Regions from separate parts of the Homo sapiens genome. Here region 1 is linked to region 2. The links are contacts of gene promoters, found by promoter capture Hi-C in human tissues and cell types (Jung and others, 2019). All regions are on one chromosome and are shown on one strand. The core of a region is centred on a gene start or on the middle of the fragment in contact, and the rest is flanking DNA. Distances in the headings are between cores, read along the strand shown.

Region 1 (5,466 bases), core at 2,682-5,181, 660 kb before region 2:
CACTGGAAAACAGTCTTGCAGTTACTGAAACCATTAAACCCAAGGTTACTACGCGGCCCAGCAGGTCTATAAACACATCCACGCAGAAACCTGTACACTCATGGCCACAGCAGTGCTATTCACAAAAGCCAAGAGGTGGAAACAACCCAAATGTCCATCAACAGATGACGAGATAAACAAAACATGGTCCATCCATCTGGACCATTCCACCCATGGAATATTACTCAGCCTTAAAAAGGAATGAAATGCTGGCCAGGTGCGGTGGCTCATGCTTGTAATCCCAGCACTTTGGGAGGCCGAGGCAAGTGGACCACATGGTCAGGAAATCAAGACCATCTGGCCAACATGGTGAAACCCCGTCTCTACTAAAAATACAAAAATTAGCCGGGGCATGGTGGTGTGCACCTGTAATCCCAGCTACTGGGGAGGCTGAGGCAGGAGAATCGCTTGAACCTGGGAGGCACAGGTTGCAGTGAGCCAAGATCACGCCACTGCACCCCAGCCTGGGCAACAGAGCGAGACTCTGTCTCAAAAAAAAAAAAGGAATGAAATGATGACACATACCACAGCGTGGATGAACCTCGATCAGGTTCATTTTCCTGAATGCTCGGCCAGGGAACAGCTACGAAGCTCACCTTGTAGCTACTTCTCACACATCACGCAGAGTGAAAGGAGCCAGACACAAAACACCATATATGATATGATTCCGTTGATGTGAAATGCCCAGAACAGGCACATCTTGAGACAGAAAGCAGGTGAGTGGTTGCCAGGGGCTGTGGAGGTAGGACGGATGGGCTAAGGGGTGCAGGGTTTATCTCTGGGGTGACAAAAATGTTCTAAAGTTTACTGTGGTAATGGCTGCACAACTCTGAATATACTAAATAAAAGCCGCCGAACTGTACACTTTATATGGGTAAATTGTATGTTGTGGCAAGTGAATTCTATTTCAATAAAGCCGCTAAGCAAAAGTGACTGCAGGGCACTTGACAGCTGATAGCCACTTCCCCAGTAAAATAAAAATTAAAAAAGCAGAATGAGAGTTTCCAGGAGCCCCCAACTTAACAGCTGGTTACACGGCCAACTCCTGAGGACAAACAGGGAAAGTCTTCCCAAATATCTTAGCAGACACTGCCTTCAATTCACACAAGAGATAACTTTCTTCCGCTTTCCCTTGAATGATATTCATAGACTTCCTTGCCCCCAAATTCCGTTCTTCCCCTTGTGATGCAAAGGGGTACCACTCCCATTCCCCACAAACAAATCCAAATTACAGGTAACAGGTGGGTGGGGCATCTGGGTCAATTACAAGTAGCACAGGACAAACCCTCTGATGTCGTCAGAATTCTAGTGAGCTCAACTGCAATGTTTACCTCCAGGGGAGCGTTTTAATGCTCTCCTTTTGTACAGCCCAGTGTGTTCAGGTGCAGGAAAAAAAATCAATTGTTTCAACTGAAAGAGAAGGACATGCCCCACAATTAATCCCAAACGGAATGCCAGAAACAAAAGCAGAACTAAAGGCTGCCCCAGGTTTGCTGTTTTATGCTCGCTACAGTTAAAAGGATTCACAAGAAAATGATTACCTTTCACACCCAGCCAACCCCCCGATCCGCGCTGTCACGCTCATGGCTCACTGCTCCACAGAGATCTTTACCGAGTCTCCCCGACAGGCTGGACGTCAGATTACAGACAGCGTATACAGTCGACTCACACATGGATCTAGGTTTCCTTTATGTTTAAAAGGAATAAAAATCTAACTGCCACCCCCATTTCACAGCTGCGGAAGCAGAAAGGTCTACAGGGCATGAAAACTACAAGGAGGTGGGGCCTCCGCAGCTCAGACTCCCTTCTTCAGGAGAACTCTCCTCTCTCCCTCCCTCCCTTCGCAAAATGTAAACAAAACTGAAAAAAACACCCATACGTGCACACCTGTTCTCCTCACACCCCACCTTCTATTTTAAGGAATATGGGGTTAGAATGAGTCAAATGTTTTTTGCTTCCATTAGGGGCTAAAAGAAAGCCCAAGTGGGTGGTCTACCCACGAGAGTGACTCAATCGACTACCACGTAAGCCCCCCATGCAAGGACAGGGTCTGAGCTCACTCTGGATGAGCAAGGAGTGGTTCCCCCAGTTCTGAAACACCAGCATATGCCAAGGGACACCTGTGCCAAGGTAAGCCTCGGAGCTTCTTCCTGTCGGAGCATTCAGGAAAACAAACCTGAGCGAGAGGTCAGGCACAAAGCAAGCCTAAGGTGAAAGCAACCTGAAATCCAGAGGGTGATGAGGACATTCCCCAGGACCCCGGTGCAACACGCGCCACCCCCCCAGCCCCTCTCCCACCCCAGGCAAGCAGCGCCCAGGACCAGGAAATGCATGCCCGATACTTCTCCCAACCCAAGCCCCCATTTAAAATACCTAAGTAACCTTCTCTAAACATCCACATCATTAAAAATAAGTTTCCAACGTGGCAGACTCGTTTATGTAAAGCCATTATTGCTGTCTTATTGGAAGAACAAAACTCAAACCCAACTTTTCCAAGGCAAGAGTTGTGAAGTTATGTAACAGGTCGGTTTCAGCAACAGGCGATGCAAGAAAAAACAAAATACAACCTGCTTCCTGAATGATCTTAATAGCCAGCCAATATGTGCTCCTCCATGGGAGGCAAAAATTCTTCTCTGCCTCAACCTTCCGCTGGCCAGCGCCCCTATGCATGGGGAAAGTCGAACCTACGCTCCGTGACTGTGAAAGGTGGGGTGCCCAGATGGCTGCGACCACAGATGGGAGGTGGGACAGGCGGCCAGACCCACCAATGGGGAGACCGGGCAGGACCCCCGGACCAGGCCAGAGACAGGATTAGGGCAGGTCACCCTGGATACTCCCGGAAAGGGACTGAGGGAAGTCACTCAAGCTCCGGCCTGAGCAAGACCCGGCCCAGGTCGTAGGAGAACTCGAGGCAGAATACCGAGACCTGCGAAAGAGGGACCAGGGCAGGTCACCCTAGCCCGGATGGAATGGAAGAACTCAGATAAGTCAGGGGGCAGGTTACTCCAGGCCAGACTGATTGTGGGACACAAGGCAGGTCAGCCCGGGCCCAGGAGGGGGAGCAAACCCAGCTGGCGTAAAGGAACAGGGTCAGGTTAGCTCGGTCCCGAACGAAGTGGAGGACTCGAGGCAAGTCTGCCCGGCCCAGGAGTTGGGGGCCGAAGGAACTCAGCCAGGTCGCGGCCGGAGCGGGGGACCCGGGGCAGATCAGGCCAGGCCCGGGCAGATTGCAGGACCTGGGGCAGGTAAGCTCAGGCCGAGCCAGAGTAGGGGACCCGGGGCAGATCGCCCCAGGCCCGGCCGCGATGGGGGACTCCGGCCAAACACAGGCCGGGCCCGAGGCGAGTTCGGGGCAGGTCTCAGGCGCCGAGGCCGGGCCCGGGCTTCCGGCACCGCCATGTGCCGCTCACCTGCGCGTCGAGCTGTCCCGCCGCAGCGCCCGCGCCCGCGCCGCCCGGGCCTCCCGCGCCGCCACCGCCCGGGCCGCCGGGGCCGCCGGGGGGCGTCTGCGTCTGGCTAGGAAGAGTAAAGTCGGTGAACTCGAACTCGGAGCCCTGTGTGTCGGCGCCAAGCAGCTCGGCCTCCTCCGTGTCCAGGAAAGTGAGAGTCTGCGAGCTGGGCCCGTACGCCTCCACGCTCATGGTGCCTCCGGGTAGGGCCCTCGGGCCGGTTCCGCGCTGCACTCGAGCCCGCCGCCGCGCTGAGGCCTAGGCCGCAGGCCTCGGGTCGCTGCCGCTGTCGCCCCCGCGCGCCCGGAAAGGACCAAACCGCGCGCCCCGGCGCCAGCCGGACCGAGAGGTAACAGTGCCGAGCCGCCGCCGCTGCCGCCGAGCCCCTCCGCGCCTCAGCTCCCCTCGAAGCCGCCAGCCGCTCGCAGCCTAGAGCAGGAACTGCCGCCACCGCCGCCGTCGCCGTGCGCGTGCGCGAGCCCGACGCCGGCGGAAGCGCGCGCGCTCTTCGCGGGCGCCTGGTGCCCAGCAGGAAGACGGGACGCGCACCGCGCACGCGCAGGGGGTGGGGCTTTCAACCGCCGCTGCGGCGGCAGCTCGAGGACTTGGTCCCGCCCCAACTGCTAATTGGGGACGCCCGGGCGGCTGGCGGTGTGGACTTGGTGGTCTGCACCTGTGGTCGCTGCGACGGTGTTTCGGTTTAATTGAGCGCTAGCCGAATACCCTACATAGGTGGTCTCGGAACGCCCAACTGGAGAGACTGGGCAGGGACGGTGCGCTCCCACTCCTGGCAAAAGCTGCTTGGAACTCAGTTTCCCCATCTGTAAAATGGAGGGTGCCTCGCACATAGTAGATGCTCCCTGTGCATTGGTTTAAAAAGGGAGTGGGGCTCGGCGCGGTGGTCACACCTGTAATCCCAACACTCAGAGGCTGAGGCGGGAGAACTGCTTGAACTCAGGAGTTCGAGACCAGCCTGGGAGACAGAGTGAGACTCCATCTCTACAAAAAATATAAAAATTAGGCCGAGCGCGGTGGCTCACGCCTGTAATCCCAGCACTTTGGGAGGCCGAGGCGGGTGGATCATGACGTCAGGAGATCGAGACCATCCTGGCTAACATGGTGAAACCCCGTCTCCACTAAAAATACAAAAAATTAGCCAGGCGTGGTGGCACGAGCCTGTAGTCCCAGCTACTCAGGAGGCTGAGGCAGGAGAATCGCTTGAACCCAGGAGGCGGAGGTTGCAGTGAGCCAAGATTGTGCCACTGCACACCAGCCTGGGCAACAGAGTGAGACTCTGTCTCAAAAAAAAAAAAAAAAATTAGCTAAGCGTGGTGGTTCGCACCTGTAGTCCCAGCTACTAGGGAGGCTGAGGTGGGAGGATCGCTTGACCCTGGGAAGTTGAGGCTGCAGTAAGCCGAGATTGCACCACTGCACTCCAGCCTGGGTGACAGAGCGAGACCCTGTCTCAAAAATAAGTAAAAATAAATGAATGGGGATAGTCTTACGTACTGGGCCTGGCACTTGGAAATGATGGTTGCTGCTGTTCCTGATGCCTCTGCCACTGTTATTATACCATTACTATTTTTGCTATGATTATTATTTAGTGGACGTATACAGCAAAACAACTGGAAGCACATGGTCTGTGGTGGACTCTAGACCTGACCACTTACCAGCTGTGTGAAATTATACAAGTGACTTAACCTCTCTGAGCCTAGGGTTTCTGTTGCCATTAAGGTGGCATAGGAAGCCTGGGCAAGGTGGCTCTTTCCTGAAATCCCAGCACTTTAGGAGGTAGAGGCAAGAGAATCACTTGAGCTCAGGAGTTTGAGGCTGCGGTGAGCTATGATTGTGCCACTGCACTCCAGCCTGGGTGACAGAGATCCTATGTGTGTGTGTGTATATTAATATATATTTATTTATGTTAATATAAATAGAGTGACTAGTAGCTCATTTATTCCTCTCATACTCTCATGTGATA
Region 2 (5,370 bases), core at 2,097-4,596:
GGGCGTAGAGCTGCAGGCACTGGGTGGGTGGGGAGCAGGGGGTTGCCTCAGCTTCCTCCCCGTTATCTCAACGGTCCCGCCCACCAGCCCTGAGCCAAGCCTGTTTCGTCACTGAGAAGAGGGTACAGTTGGCTTCACAGTGATGCGACAAAGCCCACAAACAGCAGGTGCTCAATACATGCTTGAGTGGAGGCCCCTAAGGCAGGGCTTGGGCTGCTCCTGCCTCCTAGCTCCCTTGGTTTCATCCCTAAGACCAGACCCACTGCCTCTGACCCCCATAGTATCTCACTTTACTCAGGACCTCCACACAGGCTGATCCCTCTGCCAGGAACACCCTTCATCCTCCTTCCACAGTGTCTCCTCAGTGCCCTCTCCTTGCCACTCTCTCAGCCCTGATCTAACCCTGCAGGACTAGGGTGTCACTAGGTGAGGCCTCTTGGGTGACCCGGATGTTTGATGAATGAATAAATGATTGGAGCCAATGAGTCACTTCTCTGGGAGTCATTCTTCACAATCCCCCGGGGAAGTAGGTGGGGTCTGTCCTATCATCTCCACATCCCATCATCTGTGTCTCTGCACATTCCTGCTCATCCTTCCATGCCCAGCTCAGAAATGCCTCCTCCAGTAAGTCCTCTGTGATCACTCATGCTCCTAAGAGACCTGCATTCATTCCCCTGATTCAGAGATGGAGGCTTCAAGAGGGGAGGCTGGGGCCGGGCGTGGTGGCTTACACCTGTAATCCTTTGGGAGGCTGGGACAGGCGGATAACTTGAGGTCAGGAGTTTGAGACCAGCCTGGCCAACATGGTGAACACTGTCTCTACTAAAAATACAAAAATTAGCCGGGCATGGTGGTGCACACCTGTAGTCCCAGCTACTGGGGAAGCTGAGGCAGGAGGATCACTTAAACTGAGGAGACAGTGGTTGCAGTCAGCCAAGATTGCACCACTGCACTCCAGCCTGGGCGACAGAGCAAAACCCTGTCTCAAAAAAAAAAAAAAAAAAAAAAAAAAAAAAAGGGCTGGGTGCGGTGGCTCACGCCTGTAATCCCAGCACTTTGGGAGGCCAAGGCAGGCGGATCACAAGGTCAGGAGTTCAAGACAAGCCTGACCAACATGGTGAAACCCTGTCTCTACTAAAAACACAAAAATTAGCTGGGCATGGTGGCACACAACTGTAATCCCAGCTACTCAGGAGGCTGAGGCTGGAGAATCACTTGAACCCTGGAGGTGGAGGTTGCAGTGAGCTGGGATTGCGCCACTGCATTCCAGCCTGGGCGACAGAGCGAGACTCTGTCTCAAGAAAAAATAAAAAAATAAATAAAATAAAGAAGGGTAGTTGTTTTCCTGGGCTGCACAGACAGCAGTGGTCAGGGCTAGGACTTGAATTTGGGTCTGCCTGGATGCAGGGAAGGTTACCACCCATGTCCCCCTCCTTGGGTGGAGTGAGGGGCGTCACTCACTAGTGGCAGACTTCTCTCCATGTCCTCAAACTCTTCCATGCAGACAATGGTCAGGAAGGCTAGCTCCATGTCAAGTTCATCCAACACGCAGGCCTGGGGTTTGGAGAGGGGGCAGGAGAGGGCATGAAGAGGGCCTAGGGTACCCTGACACCCTCTCGTAATAATCACCAGTACCCACCCAGGAGATAGGGAATAAAGATGTGATTAAATGGGAGCACACGAGGCAGAAGACAGAGCTGGCATCCTCGTATTTGCCTCCTGTACGTGGGACAGTTTTCCCCCACCCCAGTGTGGGGCCCTGGGGCCGCTCACCTCCACCTTGTTGAATTTGCACTCCTCTTCTCCATGCTGGCACTTGAACTCCCACCTGCCACTGACATTTTGTTCCTGCAAGGCAGCAGGGTGAGAGCCTGCTGGTAGGCTGGGTCCCCTGCTCCCCTGCCCACGTGCCTCAGTTTCCCCAGCGCCCACACACCTGTGCGTTTCCGTAGGGCACCAGCGTGACATTGAGGATCTCCATGACCAACAGCCATGTTGGGAAGAGCTCCCGGATCAGGAAGGCTCGGCAGCCACCGCACAGTGCTTCATAGTAGAGGGTCACATTGACAAGCGGTGCATTGGACTTCTTCAGGGGCCCCCGCAGGTATAGATTGCCTGTCTGTGGATTAGGAAGGCGTGGGAGGCAGGTGTAGCCCTGGGCAGTTCCCCACTTCTCTCAACCCCACTTGGTAGTCTTGTAGAAAGGGGGCTGTGATACGCAATTCATCTTGCACGCCTTCCAGAACTTGCCAGGTGGAATCTTGACTTTGAGACTTTTTTTTTTTTTTTTGAGATGGAGTCTCACTGTCGCTAGGCTGGTGTGCTGCGGCACGATCTCGGCTCACTGCAACACCCGACTCCCTGGTTCAAGCAATTGTCCTGCCTCAGCCTCCTGAGTAGCTGGGATTATAGGCACATGCCACCACACCCAGCTAATTTTTGTATTTTTAGTAGAGACAGGGTTTCTCCATGTAGGCCAGAATGGTCTCGAACTCCTGACCTCGTGATCTGCCTGCCTCAGACTTCCAAAGTGTTGGGATTACAGGCATGAGCCACCGCCTCCGGCCTTGGCCCATGCTCATTTCTTGTCACTTCACCTGGAGACCTTGCCTCTGAGCTGAGCAAGGGATCCACGTGAACCCTTTCCAAGTCCGACTGAATAGAGGCGGCACCTAATAGGTGCTGACTTCCGGCTTCAGCTGAGGGGTGGCGGGTGGCCCATGTCGCTGGAGCGGTGAGCAAGTCGCTCAGCCTCTAGGGCATCTGCCTAATAGGTCCCAAAGACACGCGAGCCCTGCCCTGGCTGGAATGAATGCATCAAGGGTAGCAGCAAGAATGCATGCCGGCGGCCCTTGGCCAGCTGCTGAACTTGTGCCCTGGGCCACAAAAGGAGACCCCAGCTCCTGCCCCAAAAGTACACAGTAGGCGCTCATTGAACCCTTGGGCGGGACTAGGCGGGTGGAGGCAGCTGCGCCTCTCAGATGCGGGATGCGAAAGCGAAACGGCACGGAGGGAGTGTGGCCGCAGCGCCGGGAACTGAACAGGGTTTTTCCAGGAACCCGGCAGGGACAGCGTCCCCTCGGGGCCCTGGTCTTCCCCTGTGAAGTCTGGGGAGAAAGAAGGAGCCGCGTGCCCCGACAGGGCGCCTGTTCCCTCCAGCCTGCCCGCCCTGTCGCCGTCCCTACCTTGTAGTTAACTGGTGGCCCATTCCCAAAGAAGTCTAACGCTTGCAGAGGGGACGCCTGCACCGCCGCCGTGGGGACGTCCAGCAGCAGCAGCAGCGGTGGCAGGAACAGCAGAAGTGGCGACAGGGTCATCGCAGCAGGGGCAAAGGTGTGGCGACTGCAGCGGCTGCCTGGGAAATAAGCGCCTTTAACCAGGCGGCGGTCCCGCCCCTAACCCGGGCCCGCCTCCCGATGCCCACGCCCCTCGGGTCCCGGGCCAGCGTCTCTCCCTCCTCCACTCCTTCCTCTGAGTGTCCCACCCCCACCCCTGCCAGGTGCTGGGTCCCCAGTCACGAGGCCATTGGGCCCCTTGGCAATCAGCCCTGCCCAGGCACGTGAGCCCTGGCGCAAGACTACCTTTAGGGGAGGTGAGGTGGGGCCTTTGAGACAGACACAGGCTGAGAGGAATGGTGGTGTCTCCACGCACCCCTAGACCTTCTAGGGGCGGCTAGGGGACTTGAGGCCCGAGACCCACTCTCAGAGTGGGCCTGTGACCTAACAGGGGTGACGTCGGATGGAGGCTGGGGATGGGATGGAGGCCGGGGTTTTGGGGGAGTAACTGAAATATTCAGGCCCCCGAGAGTGGGCAAGGCCTGTGTGGCCAGGTCTCCTCCCTCCAGTCTCGCCCGTGACCTCCCTCACACCCAACCCCCACATCCTGCCCCTCAACCCTTCCCCCCTCAAACTCCTGACCCCGACGCTCCAGACCCCTCACCGTGGTCCCGTGGGACTGACTCAGGCTTGACCACAGCCACGCCGGAAAGCAGAAGCTGGCGCAGGGAGTGGCGTGTCATTTCTCTAGGGTACCCACCCAGCCCCACTTCTGGCTTGGGGTGAAGAGAACTGGCCTTCCTTCTTTTCATCGTTCAAGGCTTGTGGGGGGTGGGGGGCAACCTGGCCTTCAAGGGACGCCCATGGGGGAGAGAGGCAGCCTGTGCTGTCTGGGATAGGGGTGGGGTGGCTTGGAGTCCACCTGGCTTTGGATTTGAGTGACAGAGCCTCAGCTTTCCCTTCTGTGTAATGGGGAGAAGGATAAGGTTTGGGGAACAAGAGTCACCATGGAGGGCTCAGAGGCAGGTGGGGGAGAGTTGTCCCAGGCTGGGGCTTCTGGATGGCATGGTCAGGCCTTGGTGCCTACACAGGACAGTGGCCCCAACAGTGAAGGCAGAGAGAATAGCCTGGAAAAAAGGCCCAGATGGAGGCTGGAGTGTTGGGGGAATAACTGAGACATTCCAACCCTGCCAGGCCTTACATTCAGGGCAAGACACATCGGATCCTAGGGAAGAAAATGTCCCACACCCAGCTGGAAGATATACCTGAGTCCCCAGCTGTGCCCCCCTCTAGTTGTGGGGAAGACCCTGGCCACACACACAGTAGCTGGTTTGGGAGCCGGAGCTTCTCTGAAGTCCCAGTGGCTGGATGGTCCCCGAGCCCATCCCTCAGACGACCAAACCGTTGGCAAAGGCTCCCCAAGACTCACCACCCCAACTTTGGTGCTTACCCTATGCCGGGTGGGATTGAAGAAATAACCATAAATATAATTGCTACAATTTTTCCAGTAGTTACCAGGCACCAGCCCTATTGGAAGAAATCATAAATGTAACCCTACAATGTATTGCTCTCTGGCTTGGTGCCAGGCATAGAGTGGGCCTACAACCCATTTTATCATTGAACCCTCAGAAGCATCCAGTTGGGGCTGGGGGTAGGTGCTACTGACTCCAGCTGGTAACAAATAAATGGCTGATCAGAGAGGGAAGGCTATTTTGCCAAGGACACACAGCCAGTGGTTGAGTGTTTTTAGAGACCACACGGGATATTCTCTTCCACCCCCAGCTCAGCATAGCTGGGATCATAAAGATGGCAACCTTTCTCCTGTGAGCACCTATGCAGTGAGAGGCACAATCTGGGCTGGAGTTATTTATGGGTTATCTCCAGACAGGACACATGGCAGGGACAGTGCCTGGCAAGGCTAGGGGGCTCTGAGGCTAAGGGAGGCAGGTCCTGTCCCAAGGTCCCAGCAGTAGACTGGGTCAGAGTGGAGGTTTCTTTCTGCACTTGCCCCAGGTTCAGCCTTGTTGGGCCTTGAGAGGTGGCTGTACAAAACAGACAAGGACAGTGAGGCCCCAGGGTTGGGGAGGGCTGAAGG

What was found. The method cuts DNA at HindIII sites, captures the fragments that hold promoters and counts their contacts. A contact is called where the count stands out against the background at its distance.
Region 1: a contact is called between the fragment with the promoter of UPF1 here and the fragment with the promoter of IFI30 in region 2, in 3 of the 25 tissues and cell types used here (adrenal gland, bladder and thymus).

What each region holds. Positions count from the first base shown.
Region 1 is chr19:18,830,424-18,835,889 of GRCh38, reverse strand. UPF1 (UPF1 RNA helicase and ATPase) reads right to left here and starts at 3,931. Exons shown (of 24, transcript NM_002911.4): 1 at 3,450-3,931. The coding sequence starts at 3,680. RefSeq lists an enhancer at 1,184-1,736 and silencers at 3,318-3,397, 3,408-3,497, 3,648-3,747, 3,868-4,127. The HindIII fragment of the contact is 23,837 bases long and covers 1-5,466 here.
Region 2 is chr19:18,171,789-18,177,158 of GRCh38, reverse strand. IFI30 (IFI30 lysosomal thiol reductase) reads right to left here and starts at 3,346. Exons shown (of 7, transcript NM_006332.5): 1 at 3,186-3,346; 2 at 1,937-2,119; 3 at 1,774-1,848; 4 at 1,462-1,554; 5 at 1-19. The coding sequence starts at 3,317. RefSeq lists enhancers at 2,119-2,784, 2,912-2,981 and a silencer at 3,292-3,601. The HindIII fragment of the contact is 16,563 bases long and covers 1-5,370 here.